2 separate regions of the Homo sapiens genome follow, and region 1 is linked to region 2. The links are contacts of gene promoters, found by promoter capture Hi-C in human tissues and cell types (Jung and others, 2019). All regions are on one chromosome and are shown on one strand. The core of a region is centred on a gene start or on the middle of the fragment in contact, and the rest is flanking DNA. Distances in the headings are between cores, read along the strand shown.

Evidence for each region. Contacts are between HindIII fragments. The study calls those that stand out against the background at their distance.
Region 1: a fragment that was not itself captured here is called in contact with the fragment with the promoter of DCDC1 in region 2 in 1 of the 25 tissues and cell types used here (IMR-90 fibroblasts).

What each region holds. Positions count from the first base shown.
Region 1 is chr11:31,497,793-31,504,025 of GRCh38, forward strand. The region is part of intron 1 of IMMP1L (inner mitochondrial membrane peptidase subunit 1); the gene reads right to left. Among named protein-coding and RNA genes, the nearest start is that of IMMP1L, 8.7 kb to the right of the region's middle. The HindIII fragment of the contact is 5,372 bases long and covers 1-4,338 here.
Region 2 is chr11:31,364,839-31,370,988 of GRCh38, forward strand. DCDC1 (doublecortin domain containing 1) reads right to left here and starts at 4,901. Exons shown (of 39, transcript NM_001387274.1): 1 at 4,859-4,901. It overlaps DNAJC24 (DnaJ heat shock protein family (Hsp40) member C24), which reads left to right and starts at 5,022. Exons shown (of 5, transcript NM_181706.5): 1 at 5,022-5,074; 2 at 5,878-6,021. The coding sequence starts at 5,911. RefSeq lists an enhancer at 4,835-5,314. The HindIII fragment of the contact is 7,317 bases long and covers 4,470-6,150 here.

The sequences.
Region 1 (6,233 bases), core at 403-2,902, 130 kb after region 2:
AGTGGCAATGATTACACAACATTGTAAGTACTCTTAATGTGACTTCACTTATACTTAAAAATGATGAAAGTAGTGAATTTTATGTTACGTATATTTTTATCACACATACACAAATTTTTTTAAAGGGCTCAAAACCTTGAGCCAGTTCAGAGGGCAGACACAAATACTTCAGTTAGAAAATCAAAACTGGGCTACTGATAAGTAGTAAAGTGAACATATTCCAATGCTCAGTGAGAGAAAAACGATCGTCATGTATGATGATAATCTATTAATTTTCATGTGAGTTGATTTAGGAAATGTTAATAGAAAAAACATAATTTGCTTTATATTCTTAAAAAATCCAACCTTAGAATACCAAATGGACTATAAAATTATTTTCAAATCTTTAATTTTGACTAATGGAAAAATTGTAATACCAAATGACCTTTAATGTTATTCTTTGAACCTTTCACTTTGGGAAATAAAAAATATAATAAGCAGAACTATAAAATTAAAATTCTAAAGGTTTTAAGAAGGAAATATTTTTAAATTACAAAGGATTCTGTTTCACCACTGGACAACACTGTTATAAAGTTCTTTAATCTGGGTTGAAACTGAAATTTCTATGCCCTGGAGAAACAAAGAGGTCTAATTTTTTTTTGACAGGATTAAAACAAGTCTTATGAAACTCAAAATCTTTCACCTCCCAGCTACCTATATTCCAGTTACTACCTCAATTGCTTTCCCATCACTTTTTCTCACCATATTAATCACTCTGAATATATACCTATTTTAGCAGAGCAAATATGCTTCATGTTTTATGCTAATATCCATAAACTGGCTACATAAAAAGCTACCCTGAGGAGGAAACTAAGCCTGTATTTGGACTGAAGTGGAAAATAGTGGATAAGAGTATGAATTCTGTAGTCAGACAGGCTAGCTCTATTGTGAATCCTAGATCTTCCACTTACGAGCTTTCTGACCTAGATAGAACAAGTTACTTATCCTTTATGTGACTCCATTAACTTCTGAACACACTCATCTATAAAATGTGTGAGGATTAAATAATATATAAAGCATTCACAACATTACAGGGACTACAATAGGCATTCAACAAAAACATTACTTAATATAATTAATCACCAATACATCCATGGAGAGAGGAGTGGAGATACTGAAGAAGATACTAAAGAAGATACTTTACATTTCAGTTTTACCATGTGTCTTTTGATTCAAATATCATGCCTAAATGGGATTCTGGTTCAAAACTGCAGATAAATTTACTGCTACTCTCTTCAAAAACTACACGGAGGGCCGGGCGAGGTGGCTTACACTGTAATCCCAGCACTTTGGAAGGCCAAGGTGCACGGATCACGAGGTCAGGAGATCAAGACCATCCTGGCTAAAATGGTGAAACCCGGTCTCTACTAAAAATACAAAAAAATTAGCTGGGCGTGGTGGCGGGCACCTGTAGTCCCAGCTACTCAAGAGGCTGAGGCAGGAAAATGGCGTGAACCCGGGACGCGGAGCTTGCAGTGAGCTGAGATCACGTCATTGCACTCCAGCCTGGGCGACAGAGTGAGACTCCGTATCAAAAAACAAAACAAAACAAAACAAAACAAAAAACACTACACTGAAACGACAGTACGTTTTAAAAAATAAATAGAAATAAATGCTGAGAAAAGGAGTGAAAGGCACACTAGAGATTTTGAAGAATTTCTGGAAGACCAGGCATATAAAATCATAGTGATAGGTTTGGATGGAGCGAATGACAGTCCAGATATGGTTAGCAAATTATAGTTCACAGGGTAAATCTCCCAGCCCATCACATGCTTTTGCATTTTTTAAAGGGCTGAAAGACTAAAGCAGCAGCATATTTTTTATAACATGTGAAAACTACATGAAATTCAAATTTCAGTGTCCACAAAGTGTTATTAAAACACAGCCATACTCATTTGTTAATGTTATTTCTGGCTACTTTCCCATGGAAGAGTTAAGAGGTCATATTACCCGCAAAACCTAAAATATTTACCATCTGGTCCCAGAAAATGTATGCCCACCCCTAGCCAAGCACAAACATGAGAATGCTTCAGGAAGATGAGACGCTTCTTCCTGTGACTCCAAAGGGGTTCTGAGCTAAAATCAGCAGTTCTGGAGGCTAACTTCTTAAATAAATAAATAAATAAATAAATAAATAAATAAATAAATAAAGTGTAATCTGCCTGAGAAGAATTTGGTCTCCAAGTATGGAGGTTGGAGAGCTAGGTTAGGGGCCTCCTCATCTGGCTATTAGAGAACGACTGGTCTGTGTACTTGCTCCTTGATTATGCACATTAAAGCAAAGTACACCAATAAATTAAGTCCTACCAACCCACAAGAAAATTGGTCAGTCTTTTTTTTTCCATTTAGGCTAAAGATTTGATGGGAAAACAAAGAAAGAGAAAACCCACTCCAGTTACTATATTATTCCACTGGTCCTTCACTTATCAACATGAATAAAGAGCCAACATTTAAGGAAAACACGAGCATGAGAAAGAAGGTCCATAATGAAAATAATTAGTCTGAATAAGCAACCCTGGAGAAATCAGAGGTAATTCAGGGAGGAAAAAAAATTCTATGTCTCTGTAAAACAAGAGATATAGAATTAAAAGAACAGAGTTTAAACATAAAATATATGCCTGTCTGCCACCACCTTCTCCCATTCAGAAAAAATAGAAAAGGTGGAGAAAAAGTTGAAGAGGAACAATCCAAAGGAGTTAATCTTCCTAAACTTTCAGGAAAAGACACTCCTCTCTCCCCTCCAAAAATCTGTTCCACATATGCACACACACACACACACAAACACACACACACACACTCCCCAAAGAGAGGGTGTTGAAAGGACTCGGAACACAGGGCAAATGAAATAAAAATACATAAAGCTGTAGACACTTTTTTTTTTCAACCTAGAGCAGAGGTTGCCAAACTAGGGCCCATGAGTCAAATTCAGCAGACTCTGTTTTAGCCAATAAAGTTTTACTGGGACAAAGTCATGCTCATTCATATACATGTTATCTGTGACTGCTTTTGTGCTCTCACAGCGAGTTGAAAAGTTGTAACAGAGACCATATGGACTACAAGGCCTAAAATATTTACTATTTGGTCTTTTATAGAAAAAGGTTGCCAAAGCTTGATCTAAAGCTGTGTGATTTAATATAGTACAAACTAGCCACATGCAGCTGTTTAAATAAATAACTTAAAATAACTAAAATTAAATAAGATTAAAATTCAGTTCCTCTGTCATATCAGTCACATTTTAAGTACTCTATAACCATACGTGTTTAATGACTATTGTACTGGACAGTGCAGATACAGAACATTTCCATCAACATAGGAGGTTCTACTGGACAGGGTTCATCTGGGTATTACAATAGATTATTGTAACTGCATTTTAATTACTGCTTTAACAATTGCTACACTGAAAAAACATACCTAAGTGCTACAGTCTGAATGTGTCCCCCAAAAAGCATGTGTTGAAAATTTAATTCCCAGTGCAATAGTGTTGAGAGGTGAGGCTAAATGGGAGGTGTTTAGGTCTGAGGGCTCCACCCTCATGAATGGATTAATGAAAATTATAAATGAGATTGAGGCTGAGAGTTGACTCTTGTTCTCTCTTGCTCTCTCTTGGGCCACTCCACTATGTGATAACACAGCAAGGACACCCTCGCTGGATACCAGCCCCTCAATCTTGGACTTCCCAGTTTCCTGAATTGTGAGCCAATATATTTCTGTTCATTATACATTACCCAGTCTCAGGTATTCTGTTACAGCAACACAGAATAGAATAAGACACTCAGAAGCAGGAAGAAGAAATACATTTAGAAAAAGACAGAAATTAGGGGTTTTAGAAATGAAAATAATGGCCGAGCATGGTGGCTCATGCCTGTAATCCCAGCACTTTGGGAGGCCGAGGCAGGTGGATCACTTGAGGCCAGGAGTTTGAGCCCAGCCTGGCCAAAACAGTGAAACCCCATCTCTACAAATAAATAAATAAATAAATAAATAAATAAATAAATAAATAGCTGGGCATGGTAACACATGCTTGTAACCCCAGCTACTTGGAAGGCTGAAGCATGAGAATTACTTGAACCTGGGAGGTGGAGGTTACAGTGAGCCAAGATCATGCCACTGCACTCCAGCCTGGGCAACAGAGTAAGACTGTCTCAAAAAAAAAAGAAAAAGAAAAAGAAATGAAAATAATTAATGCATACATCAAAGACCTTGTTGTATGAAAATATCACCGAAATAGATATTTTTAAAGTCCTTCAAAGTCAGAGAGAAAAAATCCGAACTGAGAGAAAATTCAAAGATATAGTACTACAAATGAGAAACTAAATTTGAACATAGATGTGGAAGAGATTATAATTCAAGGTTGAGAATGTAATGAATGCTATCACATTTGAAAGTAATAATAAAGTTTCCTACGAAAACAGAATTCAAAAAGAGGTAGAATAATTATATAGAACAAGAGCCATTAGTAATTTTTTAAATTATGTAATAAATGGATCCAATTTGGTTCTGAGTTAATGAAAATAATGTTTGCTAGGATATCCAACTTTCATTTTATCCTGCAAGAAATTCATCAAAACATACTTCATATCCAGACTCTTAAACTAAGAAACAGTAGTCAAAATAATAAATTTCACTCTAACACTACCCATTGGTCCAGGATTTATTTATTTCTTTAGAGAGGAGCTTCAGGAGCCTGTGGGACCCTTCGGGCAAAATCAGTAGATGTGATTTTTTCATATGAAATAGTTTTAAATATTTGGCCTACTCCCAGGCTTCCATAATTATTCAAACCGAAGGGAAATTGATCACATCTCAGCAGAAATGTCCACGATAATTAGAACATCACACATGCTTTAACACAGTAGCTTTATGTCTATGAGACTCTGGTTGACACGTGAAAGGAACACCAGTCAGCCGTTATTTAATTCCTCATGTTGGCTACATGCAAATATGGAGAAAAGTCCCAGACTGAATGACATACAAATGTTGGGCCAGTCTCTGAAATTTCTTTTCTTTTTTTGCTAAAAATTTTAATGTTTTTGTGTTGACCATTAAAAACACTTTGTTTGCCTTTATTTTTTCTTGTAGACAGATTTACTTGACAAATCTCCTTGAACTAAAACCCTTGGACACATTTACCCTATTACACTGCACATTCTAACACATGACTATACAATGGCTTTTTAAGTTTTAATTTAAATACCCCAGTTTTCCATTTATACTTTAAAATCCACTAAAATTATAATGAATATAAGTACTCATTTGCCCTGGTCAGTCCCAGCTTACTCCTGCTTTCCTAGCATCCAATATAATTCAGTATTTCAGTACTTTCAAAAGTGTCCTAAATAATCTACAGATCAAAGAGAAAATCAAAACAAAAAGTAGTAAATATTTTGAAATAAATGATGAAAACATAAAATGCCATAAGTTATAGGAGCAGCTAGTGCACGCTCTTAACTACATACGGTATATTAGAAAAGGCAGAAAATCAATAATTAAGCTTTTAGTATAAGAAGGCGGAACAAACAAAGCCTTAGCAAATCAAAATGAAGGAATGTAGAAGGAAATAAATGATAAATAAATAGTAATCGATTAAACAGAAAGTAGAAAGTAAAGACTGAGAAAAACCAATAAAGCCAAATTTGAGTATTTTTAAAGATTACGTGAAAAATCCCTAGCAAAATTAACAATGAAGAAAAAAAGGAAAAGAAACTCATTCTCAATTGCTGATATTTATTTATCAGCAATAAATAAAAGAAGAAATCACTACAGTCACAAAAGGATAGGAAGAGCTCATTCCAGTATGGCAAAGTAAGCTTATGACAGACCAATCCTACCATAGACAACAACTATAAACTCTGAACAATACACAAAAATCAATTATGTGAAGGCTCTACAGATTTAATAGAAGCAAACAGATTTTGCTGGGTAGTCAACTTAGGTGAGAAGGAATTGCCACAGGGTGAGTTTCCCATTTTTACTGATTTAACTTGAGGTCCCCACAGTACAGTGTGGCTCAAATTCTGAGAGAAAGAAAGCCAGCCTTCTGAAGAACCTGAAGACACACACTAACCAATGGAAAGTCCAGAAAGAAATCTGCCTAATTTATGTGTGACTTTATTTATTAAAAAAGTGATGATGCGATATAGCAAGGAAAGAATCATTTTTTCAATAAATGGTGCTAGGTCAATAGGATACCAATA
Region 2 (6,150 bases), core at 3,651-6,150:
AAAAAAAAAAAAAGAAGAAAGGAAGTTTCTTTCATCCTAGTCATTCACCTCTCCCTTCCTTCAAAACACTATTTAAAACTTAACATTTCATACATCTTCCTGGATTAGCTTCATCTTGATTCAAGGATTTTAATCATTCAAGTAATCTATTCTACGTATTAGTATACCTGCAAGTTATTAATTAATGTCACAGCACCTGGTATTTCCTCTGGCATAGTACTTCCTACAGTTATTTCAGTTCCTTTTTAAATGTCTGTTTACCCAGATAAACTAAGCTTTTGACAGGACTACAGTCAACTTTGTTTTGTGTCTCTTGTAACTAACGGAGTGTGGGGTACATAAGAGACACTCAACAAATATTTGTCGATTGAGTCAATAGGTGAATGAAGGCTGTATATATATCATTGACTTTTAAAAATCAAATAACTAGCTAGTTTTTGGTGGTTTTTCTATCTTCCCAGTAGATTATAAGTTGCTCTAGAGACAATCATTCAATTTTGGAACATAACCATCATATCCCATGGTACTTAAATACAGCTTAGTTCACTGGTATAAAAATCCTAAAATTCAGAAATAAAAATCAAGGAAATGAAGGAATAGTTGGTGATGGAACTACCAAAAGAGCCAAGTAAATATAATCCTGAATAGGAAATAATTAGCAGAAGTACACTATATGTATACATCTATATAATATAGATATAGATTTCCATTATTATCCATCAATGAGAAGCACAATTGACTAGTATGACATCAAATTAAGAATTTGTGAATGTCTGGTAGACGTTAGTTTACGGGCAGGCGTGTACCAAAGTGATAGATTTAATAACAATGTCATTTTTTCCTATCATCATGACAAAGGATCTTAAACTCCTGATGTATCTAGCTACATCTATAGCACTTGATCAATCATCTGGGAATCAAATATTTAATATACGCCTACCTTGGTTATGTTAGATGCTGATGACGCAAACTAAAGTTTTGCCTATCCTTTTAATTTATTCTGAAGTCCAACCAAATGTACAGTTCAACAAATATTTGGGTTTGATTTTATTTTTCCAATTCAATTGTTTCTTGCTGTCATTTGCTCTCTTTGGAAATTCCTAAAATACTGTTATGAATGTCCAACATTCTAATATATCAAATGTGCAACAAATATTATTAATTAATAATAACAACAATAGCTAACCTTTACTGAATACTTATTACTTTCAGGCACAACTATCTCATTTAATTCCCACAACAAATCTATGAGGGAAATACTATTATTACTCCCATATTACAGAGGAAGAAACCAAAGCAAAGAGATGAATTAAGTTCACATAGCCGTAAGAGGAAAAGCCTGGACTAAACACATATGTTCTGACTCTAGAGTTCATGCTTTTAACCATGATACTAACATAGTTTATATTTCCACTATGTAAGTTTCACATAAAATGGATAAATTGCCTTTTAAATATAAGATACTGAGAAACAAAACTATTAGAGCTATGTATCATTAGAACTCCAGAGAATGAGGCAAGATAGCTGGTTCTTAGTTTCTCTGGAGAGGTGTTCTTGCTCTCAGAAAGCTTGCAACCCAACTGGGGAATCAGAATATATTCTAAGGAAAACAATATACTGTGATATACAAAGGACTTGCTATGAAAGTTGAGGGGCGGCAGTAAGTTCTAAGGACCAGGCCATCATAAAAGGCTTGATGGAAGAGATAGGCCTTAAAGCAGGGATTACTCTGATAGGAGGAAGAAAAGAATTAGGGTGTTATAAGTAAGGAGAAGCATTTGAACACAATTATTGATGAAATGCTGTTACCAAAACACCAGGAGTTCCATCTATGTCTTGCTGCTTACCACCCAAAAAGTCAATCACTGAGACAATGATTATTGTCAAAGAAGAAGGCTTTAATCAGATGCTGCAGCCAAGGAGATGGGACATCAGTGTCAAATTCACCTTCCTCACTGACTAAAATTAGGGGTTTATATAACAGGGAAGAAATGTTAACTACGTATGAGAAAACAGGAACTAAGGAAGGGTAAGGAAACAATAACGAAGAATGAGGGGTCTGGCATATCACTGTCTAGATGCAGTAATCTGGTGAGTTTCAGCTCTTTGATACTTGTTGAGAGGTCTGGGCATCCTTTCTTGAGGAAGGAACTGAGATAAAGATCAACAAAATGTGGCTGGGCGCAGTGGCGCATGCCTGTAATCTCAGCACTTTGGGAGGCTGAGGCAGGCAGATTGCTTGAGCTCAAGAGTTCCAGACCAGCCTGGCCAACATGGTGAAACTCCATCTCTACAAAAAAAAATACAAACATTAGCCAGGCATAGTGGCATGCACCTGTGGTCCCAACTACTTGGGAATCTGAGGTGGGCAGATGACTTGAGCCTGGGAGGTAGAGGCTGCAGTGAGCTGAGATCATGCCACTGCACTCCAGACTGGACACCAGGGCAAGACTCTGTCTCAAACAAGCAAACAAAAAGATAAAACAAATGCAAGTTTCAAGCTTTCAGAAAAGAAGTGTCCATTTCTATGTTTATTAATTTAAAAAACCCCAATAAACAAAACTAAACAAACAAACAAAACCCTGTCTATGGGACTGTTGGGTTGATTTCAGTACCATGAAAAGATCCAATTGTTTAAATGTTTAATGTATGGAGATAATAGGGGAGGTTGGAAAAGTAAGGATCATATTGAAGAGGTAACTTGAATGCTAGGTTAAGGAGTTAGGACTTTATTCTCTAGACCTGCCCTGCTGGATACAGTAGCCACTAGTCACATGTGGCTACTGAGCATTTGAAATGTGCTAGTTCAAATTGAGGTGTGTTCGGGCACAATACATACCAGCTTTTGAAGACTTAGTAGGAGAAAAGAATGTAAAGTATCGCCTTAATAATTTTTAGATTAATTAATTTTGTAGCTTGCACTTACGGCTTACATTATATTTCTATTGGAAAGTACTGCTCTATAAAATGAAAAATGAAGGAAGCTTAATGATCAGAAATTTATGTAAAAATTGTTTTAAGAAGTTTATTTTGGTATAAGCAGAGTGTAAGACAACTGTTCTCATTCAGTAAGCCAATGGCAAGTAAAGAAAAAAACAAGGTTCTAGTGAAGAAATGGGACTGCTATAATTTAAAAGATATTTAAGAGACAGAACAGCTAAATGGAAAGTGTACATTTTGTCTGATTCTGAGTCAAGCAAACCAACCAGAAAAAGACATTTTCAATTAACCGTGGAAATGTAAGTAAGGTCTAGATATTATGTGACAGTCCAATAATGACATTATGGAGATAAAAGAAAAAGTTGGTACATTTTAGGGATGCAAACTAAAGTATGTAGAGATGAAATGACAAAATATTTGGTATTGCTGGGGAAAAAAACTATTTCTTACTTTCCAAACCCCAATAAATAAATAAGGTAACACAATAACCTAATAAATAGTAAATCAAAATAAAATGCTTTTGCTGTAAAAAACAAAAAACCTGGAGTACCGGAGCATATCTACCTACACAAGGAAGAACCAAGCTGTGGACAGAAGGGAGTTTGAGGGCTAGAGATGTTCAAGGTGGCATCATTCTGACAGTACTGTTTAGAAAAGCATTCACCACACTACTTAATTCCATTGCTTTAGGTATTTTCATGAGGCCACACAAGAAAGTATGATGCAGCCAGGACTAAAACCAGATGCTCTTTGTATCTGCCTTTAAACATGACAAAACCCTGTGGAGAACCTAATCTATGCTTTCATCTTTAGATTTTTAAACTTGCTTGTTTCATTCAGTTATTCTTTATAGTTCATAACATCATTAAATAACTGATCATATTAGATTATTTTATTTATTCTGCTTAAGTTTATCTTGACTGCTTCTCAAACTCAGATTGGTAGAAGTTTAAAAAAGAAGGAAAGCAAAATCAAAGCAGTAACAACAAAACCATTTTAACATCTCCAAGTGAAATTTATGTCATGCTGGCCAAAAATAAGATGTAGTTTTCATCTCCAGGTACAATGCTAGGAAGAGGTGTTAATGTAAAGTAAGCAGCACAAAGAAGTAATAAAAGGAAACACAGGAATCAAGAAAGGGAGAAGAAAGAAAGGTGAGAAAAACACCACCACCACCACCACCACCACCACCAGCAACAATAACAAACCCCAACAGTGCCCATATGCAGTGCCCCCTAACTGCTTCGAAGAAGAACAGTTCATTCTGCTTTTTTCTGTAAGCTTGAAAGATAGCATAGCTGCCCTGGGAATGTGTAGACTTGCTGAGTCCTTGTTCTGCCCCTACCCAACTAGCTGTTTGGCCTTGATCCTTGATTTCTTTCCTCATCTATAAAGTGGGAATAATGGCACCTGCCTTACTTGTCTCACTGGGTTGAAATGAAAGCGAAGTGAAATAGCAAATGTGAAAGAATTTTGGAACGTTTTTATGTTGTAAGTTGGTTGCTAAGGTCTAAAAGAAATATTAATAATTACGTCGAATATCTTCTGCAGAAAAAATTAAACCGACCCCATCCCCCGCACATCTAGCCCTACCTGGCATAGGTTTTAGTTCTTTTAATTTTCGAATTAGAACATTGTAAAGGAACTGTAGGGACGAGAGTGGCATCAGGTCTCCTCATCCTTCTCACATCCTTGCCCCCGCACCCCTCTCTCACCCCAGAGTTCAAGCACCAACCGAAAAGATTGAGAGTAGCTCAGGGTACGGTAAACGGAGGAAGCTTTGAAAAAGGCGGGGAAAGCCTGGGATGGCGAGGGGGTGCTCGCTGAGGAGGAGGAGAGAAGCGACAGTCGCGGGGCCCGGAAAAGAGAGACTTAGAGCGAAGCCAAAGGCGCCTTTCTTCACAGTTTGGGAACTTACTGGTAGTAAACGCCACTCCATAGAAGCGGTGACCGGTTACCATAGAGACCGCGTCGGGGTGGGCGGAGCGTCGCTTCTGAGCTGTGCCACGGCCACATCAGCTCGGCCAGAAACGCGAACACGTCGGAACAGTGACTTCCGGCGGAAGAAGAAGCCGGTCCGGAGTTCTGGCCGACAGCAGGCGAGGAGTGGGTAGCAGCGCCTATGTGAAGTTAGGTAGGTCTGATGTCGTATAAAGCGCGGAGAGGGTGCCCGCCAATGGCTGGGTGGGTAAAGCCGACTGTGAATGGAGAAGATTCCCAAGTCCCGAGCTTGAGGAGGCCCCGGCTGTTTCGTTAAGTGTATATAGCTGTGGGAAGAGGTTGCCTGATTTCTGGGGCTCCTGGTAGGGTCTCTCTTCTGGAGCGTGGAAGACTGGGGCATCCTCGCGTAGAGAGTTTCACTCTGTCTTTGCGAGGTCTCAGCGCCTCTCCAATAACAGGGGACTCTTGTTCTCTACCAGCTGGTGCTGACGTTATTTCCCATATCATGCTCTCCAGACAATCTGGAGGAAAAGCAAACGAGAAACTTTCAGAAGGAATGCCCCCAAATTTATTTTAATTCTTTGATGTTCTGTTTTGCTTTTTTTTTATTCGTTCATTTTGTAAATATTCATTAAGCTCCTCCAGCGTGTTTAGTGGGTGCTTACTTGTGTGCCAGTTTTATCATAAGACTAGCAGAAATACCTTCTTAGAGGTTCATACACCACCTGGTTCATTATAAAATTCTTTTTTTTAATGCTGTTCATTAATTAAAGTATAAATATATATCGTGAAATACCTAACACGTTTTCCATACTTGTCGGTACACTTATACCTGGAATTCTTGGGGCATTTTAAATGAAAATCTGTGCTTCCTCAGGTTTGCATTATAATCATGATTTACTCGACTAAATACTAAAGAATTTACAAGGGCAGTACTTAATTTTTTCTTAGATACATGGCAAACTGTGATGAATTGTCATTAATATTTCTATTCAGCTAATCTGAGAAGGCCCACTTCTGGTTCCATGGATGATGGCGGTTGAGCAGATGCCAAAAAAGGATTGGTACAGCATCCTGGGAGCAGACCCATCTGCAAATATATCAGACCTAAAACAAAAATATCAAAAACTCATATTAATGGTAAGTCTTTTCTTTCAGATTTTAAATCATGAGGGGAAAAAAATCAATTTTTATATGAAACCACAAATTTAGGTTTCCAGAAAATAGGATACCAGTGGCAGGAATCCAGGTATTAATTTGATTTAATTG